Linked DNA regions of Homo sapiens: all the other regions are linked to region 3. The links are contacts of gene promoters, found by promoter capture Hi-C in human tissues and cell types (Jung and others, 2019). All regions are on one chromosome and are shown on one strand. The core of a region is centred on a gene start or on the middle of the fragment in contact, and the rest is flanking DNA. Distances in the headings are between cores, read along the strand shown.

Evidence for each region. The method cuts DNA at HindIII sites, captures the fragments that hold promoters and counts their contacts. A contact is called where the count stands out against the background at its distance.
Region 1: a contact is called between a fragment that was not itself captured here and the fragment with the promoter of PALM3 in region 3, in 1 of the 25 tissues and cell types used here (spleen).
Region 2: a fragment that was not itself captured here is called in contact with the fragment with the promoter of PALM3 in region 3 in 9 of the 25 tissues and cell types used here (IMR-90 fibroblasts, aorta, bladder and 6 more).

What each region holds. Positions count from the first base shown.
Region 1 is chr19:14,271,899-14,275,109 of GRCh38, reverse strand. No RefSeq gene overlaps it. Among named protein-coding and RNA genes, the nearest start is that of LINC01842, 60 kb to the left of the region's middle. The HindIII fragment of the contact is 5,931 bases long and covers 1-3,211 here.
Region 2 is chr19:13,909,292-13,912,843 of GRCh38, reverse strand. It overlaps CC2D1A (coiled-coil and C2 domain containing 1A), which reads right to left. Exons shown (of 29, transcript NM_017721.5): 2 at 2,886-3,021; 3 at 406-521; 4 at 251-316. Among named protein-coding and RNA genes, the nearest start is that of CC2D1A, 4.9 kb to the right of the region's middle. The HindIII fragment of the contact is 5,078 bases long and covers 1-3,552 here.
Region 3 is chr19:14,060,081-14,063,437 of GRCh38, reverse strand. It overlaps PALM3 (paralemmin 3), which reads left to right and starts at 1,362. Exons shown (of 7, transcript NM_001145028.2): 1 at 1,362-1,498. The coding sequence starts at 1,458. RefSeq lists an enhancer at 867-1,421. The HindIII fragment of the contact is 26,422 bases long and covers 1-3,357 here.

The DNA.
Region 1 (3,211 bases), core at 42-2,541, 210 kb before region 3:
AGAAAGAACACTGACATGTTTGACTGTGTCTCCACCCAAATCGCATCTAGAATTGTAATCCCCACGTGTCGAGGGGAGGGACCTGGTGGGAGGAGATTGGATCACGGGAGCATTTCCCCCTTGCTATTCTCGTGACAATGAGTTCTCACCAGATCTGGTTGTTTGATAAGCGTCTGGCACTTCCTCTCTCTCTCTCTCTCTCTCTCTCTCTCTCTCTCTCTCTCTCTCTCTCTCTCTCTCTCTCCTCTCTCTCTCTCTCTCTCTCTCTCTCTCTCTCCCCTGCCTCCATGTACGATGTGCCTTGCTTTCCCTTCACTTTTTGTCATGATTGTAAGTTTCCTGAGGCCCCATCAGCCATGCGGAACTGTGAGTCAATTAAACCTTTTTTCTTCATAAATTACTCACTCTCACATAGTTCTTTATAGCGGTGTGAAAACAGACTAATACAGACATGTTTGCTCCAAGATCCTAGAACTAACTTATTCATTGTGGGAATGACCAAATGAAGTCAAGAGCAGAGGATGGAAAACTTTTTCCATCAAGGATCAGAATCTAAATATTTCTGTCTTTGCAGGCCACATGTTCTCGCTCTCTTTTTTTTTTTTTTTTTTTTTTGAGACGGAGTGTCACTCTTGTCACCCAGGCTGGAGTGCAATGGTGTGATCTCAGCTCACTTGCAACCTCTGCCTCCCAGGCTCAAGTGATCCTCCCGCCTCAGCCTCCAAAGTAGCTGGGATTACAGGCATGTGCCACCACACCCTGCTAATTTTTTGTATTTTTAGTAGAGATGGGCTTTCACCGTGTTGCCCAGGCTGGTCTCGAACTCCTGAGCTCAAGCGATCCGCCTGCCTTGGCCTCCCAAAGTACTGGGATTACAGGTGTGAGCCACCACGACGATCTGATGCTCCTCATTTATAGAATCCACCCTGTAACCCTCCTGGCAACAGAATCTTAGACAAGGAGTAGTTGCCAGAATTCCAGCCCCTGAAATACACAGGAAAACAAGATGTAGATAGGCTAACAGATAATCCAACACATTCAAAAAGGTGACAAATGGCAGTGTTGGCCACAGGGTTCGAAACATGCTAGAAGGAGGAATTGGAAGTGTTTTGGGCCATGGTGGAAATCCAACTCCATTCCAGATGTCCAACACAGCTTCCTTGTTCCATGAGGTCATTGCCTCCCAGTGTCTCTTTGGTTGCGTTCCTCCCCACAAAGCAATAAAAGTTGGATGACAAAGTTGAGCCCTGGTGAATGAAGGGGATATTAAAAATAAAGAATGGAGAATTGTTGGTAATAAAAGGAAATGAGCAGGACGGGGCGCTGCGGCTCACGCCTGTAATCCCAGCACTTTGAGAGGCTGAGGCAGGAGGATTGCTTGAGCCCAGGAGTTTTGAGACCAGCCTGGGCAACATAGTGAGACCCCCATCTCTACAAGCAGTAAAAAAAAAAAAATATTAGCCAGGCATGGTGGTGTGCACCTGTGGTCCCGGCTACTCTGGAGGCCGAGGATGGCTTGAGCCCAAGAGTTTGAGGCTGCAGTGAGCTATGATTGCCCCACTGCATTCCAGCCTGGAGGACAGTGAAATCTCATCTCAGAAAAAAAAAGAATAGCCAAGCATGGCGGCTCACACCTGTAATCCTAGCATTTTGGGAGGCCGAGGTGGGCATATCACCTGAGGTCAGGAGTTTGAGACTAGCCTGGCCAAAATGGTCAAACCCCGTCTCTACTGAAATACAAACAAATTAGCGGGGCGTAGTGGCACATTCCTGTAGTCCCAGCTACTCGGGAGGCTGAGGCAGGAGAATCGCTTGAATCCTGGAGGCGGAGGTTGCAGTGAACCGAGATTGCGCCACTGCACTCTAGCCTAGGTGACAAAGCGAGGCTCCATCTCAAAAAAAAAGAGAGAGAGAACGTGATGATTCTGTGATCTCTAATGAACAGAAATGAGCTGACTCCTTGAGCTGCCAGGGATGTACTAGGCATTGATTTCCAGCCTCTATGGCTGCAAGCTATGAACCCTTCATGACCTCACCTAGGTTTGTATGCAAACTGGGCCTCTGTTGTGAAACTGAGGTCAGGGTGATGGGGGTTCAGATACTTCCAAGTCACCACCACAGAAGCGGCAAACACAATAGTTGTCAATGCTTTTGGACACGCCTCCATCTGTCTCCTGCCCAGAGGAGAAAATTATCTGGGCATGGTGGCATGTGCCTGTTTCACCAGCTATGAAGTGGAGATACAATATGTAATAGTCAGATAACCTAAGTTATGCTACGTAACAAACGATCCCATACAAGGCCAGATTGTTGAACTGAAAGAGGCTGTATTTCCAGATTCAGGACATGCTGCCTGCCAATAATTTGGGAAGTAGGGCTATAAAACACACTTGATTATGGGAGGGCAGTCCTGGTTCTGTAGCAGGTCAGGGTGGTGGGGGTAGATATTTGCAAGTCCCCACTGCAGAGGCAGCAAACACACAGATGTTAATGCTTTCGCACACACCCCCATCTGTCTCTTGCTCAGAGCCCAGCTAGGAGACAGCACAGCTCCAAACCCACCCTCTCCCTGGGTCCAATCTCCTAATCTGGAAAACTCTCTTCTTTCCTTCCCTCTCCCCTGCCCCCACATTCCTTCAGAGCTGGAGGTTAATAAACTCATCACTGCTGAGCAGGGAACACGTCTGCAGAGGTTTTAATTACAGCAGAAAATTGGTCCAATTGGTATTTAATGTAGAATAAGTGTCGCGTTAACTGGTCAGGGCGGGAGGAGTGGAGGTTTGCCTGTAAGTGTCCTGAGCCCTGTCTGGCTGGTCCTCCCTGGGAGCTTCTGAGTGCAGAGGGGACTCAGAGACCCCGGGAAGTGACAGGAGGCAGCCCAAGGGATGAAGAGGTGAGAAGACATTTCTGAAACCTCAGCTCCGGGCTCTCCTCAGGACCCAGGAGTCTAATGGCTCAGCTCTCTGGCTTGAGGATTTTTCTCCCTGTAGCAAACAATTGTTCTCCAGCCCTTAGGAGGAAGTGTTAGGGCTCATGTGATCAGAGTGTAGGCAGAGCAGGGGATTGGCAAGGAGATCAGAGGGGATTGGAGGTGTAAGGCTGAAGGAACTAAAGGGTCCAGGTGGGTGTTAGAGGGAGGAGGATGTTACTCAATCCTCTTGTCCAGCCTCCTAGATCTCCCCCAGGGGAGATGCTAGAGAGAAACCAACCA
Region 2 (3,552 bases), core at 209-2,708, 150 kb after region 3:
CATCTCTACCAAAAAATACAAAAATTAGCCAGGCGTGGTGGCACACACCTGTAATCCCAGCTACTGGGGAGGCTGAGGTGGGAGGATCCCTTGAACCTGGGAGGCAGAGGTTGTAGTGAGCTGAGATGGCACCACTGCACTCCAGCCTGGGTGACACAGCAAGACTCCATCTCATAAAAAAGGCTAGGTCTTGAACCCCGGGCTGTCCGTTGGGTTGTGGTTCAAGGGAGTGGAGTCATCCAAACTGTACCTGGGCCACAGGAGGTGGGGTCTCTGAAGCCTTCTGCTCCTCTCCAAGGACCTCATTTAGCTCCGCCTGCAGGGACACACAGCCAGGGCAGGATATAAGGGCCTGCTGGATGGGGGCAACCGGATCAGAGCCCCCACCCCGCCCTCAGTGCTCACCAGCAGGTCATCATCAGCCTCCAAGTCGTCCTCATCCGTCCCCTCCTCCTCATCCTCATCCGGGTCTCTCATGCACAGGCTGGCCATCTTCTCAATGGCCTCCATCGGCAAGGGACCTGGCGGTAGGGGGATGCCCCAGGTGGACCAGGGTCGTACACCAAGAGCCCCCATTTCCCATCCTGGACACGCTAGGTGATCCCACTTCTCGCTGACTTCCCCATTTCATCTCTTCCTTATTCAGCCTCAGGTCTGGGGCCTGGCTACCTGAATTCAAAACCCAGCTCTGCAGACCGGGCACAGTGACTCACGCCTATAATCCCAGCACTTTGGGAGGCCGAGGCAGAAGGATCACTTGAAGTCAGGCGTTCAAGACCAGCCTGGCCAACATGGTGAAACCCTGTCTCTACTAAAAATACAAAAATTAGGCTGGGCGCAGTGGCTCACGCCTGTAACCCCAGCACTTTGGGAGGCCGAGGCGGGTGGATCACAAGGTCAGGAGATCGAGACCATCCTGGCTAACACGGTGAAACCCCGTCTCTACTACAAATACAAAAAATTAGCCAGGCATGCTGGCGGGCGCCTGTGGTCCCAGCTACTCGGGAGCCTGAGGCAGGGGAATGGCGTGAACCTAGGAGGCGGAGCTTGCGGTGAGCCAAGATCGCGCCACTGTACTCCAGCCTGGGCGACAGAGCGAGACTCCGTCTCAAAAAAAAAAAAAAAAAAAAAAAAAAATTAGCTGGGCATGGTGGCGTGTAATCCCCGCTGCTAAAGAGGCTGAGGCAGGAGAATCACTTAAGCCCAGGAGGCAGAGGTCGCAGTGAGCTGAGATTGCGCCACTGCACTGCAGCCTGGGCAACAGAGCAAGGGTTTGTCTCCAAAAAAAAAAAAAAAAACACACACACACAACAACAACAAAAAAAACCCCAGCTCTGCAACTTTCTCTCTGTGAGAACTTCGGCAAGTGATGTCACCTCTCTGAGCCTCAGTTTCTCCCTCTGTGACACGGGGATGACAACAGTTCCTCCTTCATAGGTAGGTTGGAGCAGAGAAGGTCAATGAAGCTCTTAGAATAGCATATTGCCAATATCTTGTTATTAGTTATGTTACATTCTATAAAGCTGCTTTGAAGACTAAATTAATGACTATAAGACTGTTGCTCCTAGGGGAAATTTAAGCTTAGGTTCCTGTGAATCTCCAGTCATAACCTTTTTTGGAGACAGGATCTTGCTCTGTCACCCAGGCTGGAGTGCAGTGGCCCAATCAGAGCTCACTGCAGCCTCAAACTCTTGGCCTCAAGTGATCTTCCTGCCTCAGCCTCCCGAGTAGCTGGGATTACAGGCATGCACCACCACACCCAGCTCTGGTCACAAAATTTTAATCAACTGATCAATACACAACCTTGCTCTATGTGTGTTTCTGTTTGAAGACACCTTCCTGAATAGATATCGTTCATTCATTAACTTTGAATTCACAGCCAACAGCACAGTAGTTCATGCCTGAATGAAGCTTCTCTCTTTTTTGTTTTTTGGAAACAGGATCTTGCTCTGTCACCCAGGCTGGAGTGCAGTGGCGCAATCTCTGCCCACTGCAACTGCTGCCTCCTGGATTCAAGCGATTCTCATGCCTCAGCCTCCCAAGTAGCTGGGATTACAGGTGTTCGCCACCAAGCTTGGCTAATTTTTGTATTTTTAGTAAAGACAGGGTTTCACCATGTTGGCCAGGCTGGTCTCGAACTCCTGGCCCCAAGTGATCTGTCCACCTTGGCCTCCCAGAGTGCTGGGATTACATGCATGAGCCAATGTGCCTGGCTGACATGAGCTTATTGTGTGTGAGGGGGCCCTGGGTGAAATACTTATGGACTCCAGATTAACTCCTATAACATGGTTATTATTCCAGTTTTACAGATGGTGAAACTGAGGCCAAAGCACATGATGTGACTCATCAAGTCACATAACCAGTAAGTGGCAGAGCTCGGATTCCAACTCTCAGTCTCGGTCCAGACTTGATCTTTTTTTTTTTTTTTTTTTTTTTGAGACGGAGTCTTGCTCTGTCGCCCAGGCTGTAGCGCAGTGGTGCGATCTCGGCTCACTGCAAGCTCCGCCTCCCTGGTTCACGCCATTCTTCTGCCTCAGCCTCCTGAGTAGCTGGGACTACAGGCGCCCGCCACCACGCCCGGCTAATTTTTTTTTTTTTTTTGTATTTTTAGTAGAGACAGAGTTTCACCGTGTTAGCCGGGATGGTCTCAATCTCCTGACCTCATGATCTGCCTGCCTCGGCCTCCCAAAGTGCTGGGATTACAGGCGTGAGCCACCGTGCCCGGCCTCAGAGTCGATCTTGACTCTCTTACCCAGATCATTGGCTCCAGGAGAACAGGGGTCTTCTCTGTCTTCTTTCCCCTACCTACCCAGTGCCCCCAGTTCTGCGCCCGAACCACTTGCAGGAGATCAGAAAATGTTCTGAGGGTGTGTTAACCATCTCACCTTTGCCTTTGAGCTTCTCCAGGGCTGGGGGCTGGCCCCCGACCAAAGCCAAGAACTCAGCCTCCAGTTCTTCATCGTTAGCCCCGTCCTCAGGGATCATCAGGCCATCTGGGGAGAGGTCAACCAGCAGGCCCAGCTAGGGGAACAGCAAGGGTTCAGTCAGACCTTTGGTTCACCACATGGCTAGAGGCAGCCATGATGGCCAGAGAGTCCCCTTGGGAGGAAGGAAACAAGGTCTCCCAGGGAAAGCCATTTCCCTGGGGAGTGCCAGGAGGCTGGAACAAGCCCAGAACAGGTGTTCCAAGATAGGCCAGGCCCTCTGGCACAGTTCAACCTGGGGCAAAGGGCAAGAGACCCAGCTCTCTGATCTGAATCCACACTTATGATGTGCTGCTGGGCCAAGTTCAGTGGGAAAAGCAGGCCCCTGGCTGGGCGCAGTGGCTCACGCCTGTCATCCCAGCACTTTGGGAGGCCAAGGCAAGAGGATGGCTTGTGTCTGGGAGTTCCAGACCAGCCTGGGCAATACAGTGAGACCCCCAACTCTACAAAAAAAAAAAAAGTTTTTTGTTTTTTGTTTTTTTTTGACACAGAGTCTCGCTCTGTCACCCAGGCTGGAGTGCAGTGGTGCAGTCTCAGCTCACTGCAACCTCCGCCTCCGGGGTTCATG
Region 3 (3,357 bases), core at 113-2,612:
CAAAAAAGAAAAACAAAAAGTCCAGAATAGGCAAATCCATAGAGATGGACACAGATTGGTGGTTGCCAGGCACGGGAGGCAGGGGAATGAGTAGTGATCACTTCCTTTTGGGTTGATGAAAATATTCTGAACCAGTGGTGAGGATTGCATAATATTGTGAACATACTAAATGCCACTAATGGTAAATTTTGTTATGTGTATTTTACCACGATCAAAAAGTAATTTTTTTTTTTCAGACGGAGTCTTGCTCCGTCACCCAGGCTGGAGTGCAGTGGCATGATCTCAGCTCCCTGCAATCTCCGCCTCCTGGGTACAAGCAATTCTCCTGCCTCAACCTCCCGAGTAGCTAGGACTACAGGTGTGCCACCACACCTGGCTAATGTGTATCTTTAGCAGAGGCAGGCTTTCTCCATGTTGGCCAGGCTGGTCTCAAACTCCTGACCTCGTGATCCGCCCACCTCGGCCTCCCAAAGTGCTGGGATTACAGGCGTGAGCCACCGTGCCTGGCTCAAAAAGTAATTTTTTTTTTTTTAGACAGAGTTTTGCTCTTGTTGCCCAGGCTGGAGTGCAATGGTGCGATCTTGGCTAACTGCAACCTCTGCCACCTGGGTTCAAGTGATTCTTCTGCCTCAGCCTCCCAAGTAGCGGAGGTTACAGGCATGCACCACCATGCCCGGCTAAGTTTTTTTTTGTATTTAGCAGAGACGGGGTTTCACCATGTTGGTCAGACCAGTCTCGAACTCCGCCCTCAGGTGATCCACCCACCTGGGCCTCCCAAAGTGCTAGGATTACACATATGCACCACTGTGCCTGTTCTTAAAAAATAATTTTAAAAAATGTTATCTGCCAGATGTGGTGGCTCATGCCTGTAATCCCAGCACTTTGAGAAGCCGAGGAGGGAGGATTGTTTGCGCCCCGGAGTCTGAAACTGCAGTGAGCTATGATCGCACTACTACATTTTAGCCTGGGCAACAGAGTGAGACCCCCATCTCTAAAAAAATAAAACAGTCTCCAGCCTGTGTGCTATGCAATGGTGCTCTCCTGTGGGTGAGTCTTGGCAGGCAGTCAGACTCAAGATGATTGGGGTGCCAAGTAGAAATGCCATTCTCTGGTGGCAGGGGGAGTCACCGACTCAGTACTCTCACCCCCACGCTTGACCACGCGTGTGTGAAAGTGTTTTCCGGGAGGCAGCTGAGTGCAACAAAGAGGCCAGAGGCTGGTGAATAATTTATCAGGACAGCTGATAGTACCTCCCCAGAACTGCCCTCCAGCCCCCAGCCCCCCTCTCTGGTGTGCCTACCGCCTCCCTGGCCCAAACCCGCTGGACCTGCTCTCCCGGTGCCCGCCCGCAGCCCCCCCCCACTCCAGGCAGCCAAGTCACAGCCTCCGGGGCACCTTCAGGCAAGCGGGTGGTGGGTCCAGAACTCGGAGACCAGAAAGTGAACTTCTGGGCAGAGATGGCCCTGCAGAGCCAGGTGTGGTCTCTGGCCACACCCATGTAAGTGTCTGGGGGGTCAGGGGGGCTGGTGGGCAGGGCCTTGGGAGGGGCTCATGGGGGATGCTGGCCTTGTCTGGGAGCCGAGAGCTCCAGTGGTCTCTCCTAAGGGGACCCGGGGAGTGGAGGGGTTGGCTAGCCAACCCCATAGGCTCATCAGTGTCACCCTTCCTTAAAGAGTCAAGGGGTGGGAGAGAGATATAGGCTCCCCCTGCCCCTTCCTCTTCGGGGATTTTCCGCTGCCAGGGCTGAGAACCCAAAGTCCAGCCAGGGGGTGGGGCTACTGCTGTGGTGCAGGGAGTGGGGAAGGTCAGGGTCACTGGGTTCCACGTTTTGCCCCTAAAGTCAGTGTCCAAGGTGGGAGAAAAGGCTTGAGATCCAACAGAAGTTAAAAGCTCCCAGCCTGAGAAAGACAATGGCAACATTGCAAGGATGACCTCCTTCATGAAATGGCCACCAACTCTTGCGGGTGGCCAGAAGCCCAGGCCGCCTACGTTGTTCTTCCAGAGTTAGTTAGAGATAAGCAAGATGGAATGGGGTGTGTGAAGTCTTTTCATAGCTGAGGGGTGAGAGTTTTTTAAGGTTAAAAGGGTAGAGGGGGCTTCAGAGGTTTGGAAAGAGTTTTGGAAAAGGGGCTTCCCCCCACACTAGGGACCCCAATTCGGTTCCTCACCCTTCTAGGTCCTCCATTGCATTATTCACCAACTACAAACCTGGTTGCTTAGCAATGGGAACCCGATCCCCCCCAGCAAGGAAGAGGCAGGGAGATTACATCTTGGGGGTGGTACAGGAGACCACGGGACTTCAGCCCTCCCCCAGGGGCAAACCTATAAGCACAGAATCTGGGCTTCCTTTGGGATATCTTGCAAAGCATGACTTCGTGGCCGGGCACGGTGGCTCACGCCTGTAATCCCAGCACTTTGGGAGGCCGAGGCGGGCAGATCACCTGAGGTCAGGAGTTCGAGACCAGCCTGGCCAGTATGGTGAAACCCCATCTGTACTAAAAATACAAAAATTAGCCGGGCTTGGTGGTGCACGCCTGTAATCTCAGCTACTCAGGAGGCTGAGGCAGGAGAATCACTTGAACCCAGGAAGCGGGGGTTGCAGTGAGCTGAGATTGAGCCATTGCACTCCAGCCTGGGTGACAGAGCGAGACTCCGACTCAAAAAAAGAAAGAGCATGACTTCAATTCCTTGCCCCAAACAGCATTCAGGGTCTCCAGGCTGCTCTCTTAGCTACCTTGATGGGGATTCCTAGACCTGCACCCCCACCCCCCTCGCCAGCTGTGTTCTCAGTATTTTGGATCTGATAGCTTCAAGTTCTGATCTTGGCTCCATGACCTTGGACACTGCTGCCACTTCTCAGAACCTCAGTTTTCCCATCCATAAAATGGACACATTCATATAGCTTACCTCCTAGAGTCGTTGGGAGGATTCAGTGAATTACATTGCACCTGGCACGTGTTACGGGCTAGCTAATGGTTGGCTGATTTTGTTCTTAGCTGGAATGTCAACTCAGCAAAGAGTTGACTCCACTGTGTCATGATAGAGGCAGGGAGGGGGAGGCAGAGGTGGCTGTGGGAACCTAGCGGAAACCCCGTGGGGCACTTAGAACACTATATGCTATATATAGTATATATATATCATATATATAGCACTATAAGTGCTAATAGCCTTCACGTTGTGGCCACAGAAGATCTGGAAGGTCCTAGCTGGAGTTCAGGCAATGAGGCTTACCCAGTAGGGTGACTGTTCAAATTAATAAATGTTTGAGGGTTTGATCAGCGCCCGTCCATGCCGGTGGAGATGACAGGCAGAGAGACATCGCTTTCTAGATACTGGCCTGTGACACGTGGTCAACAT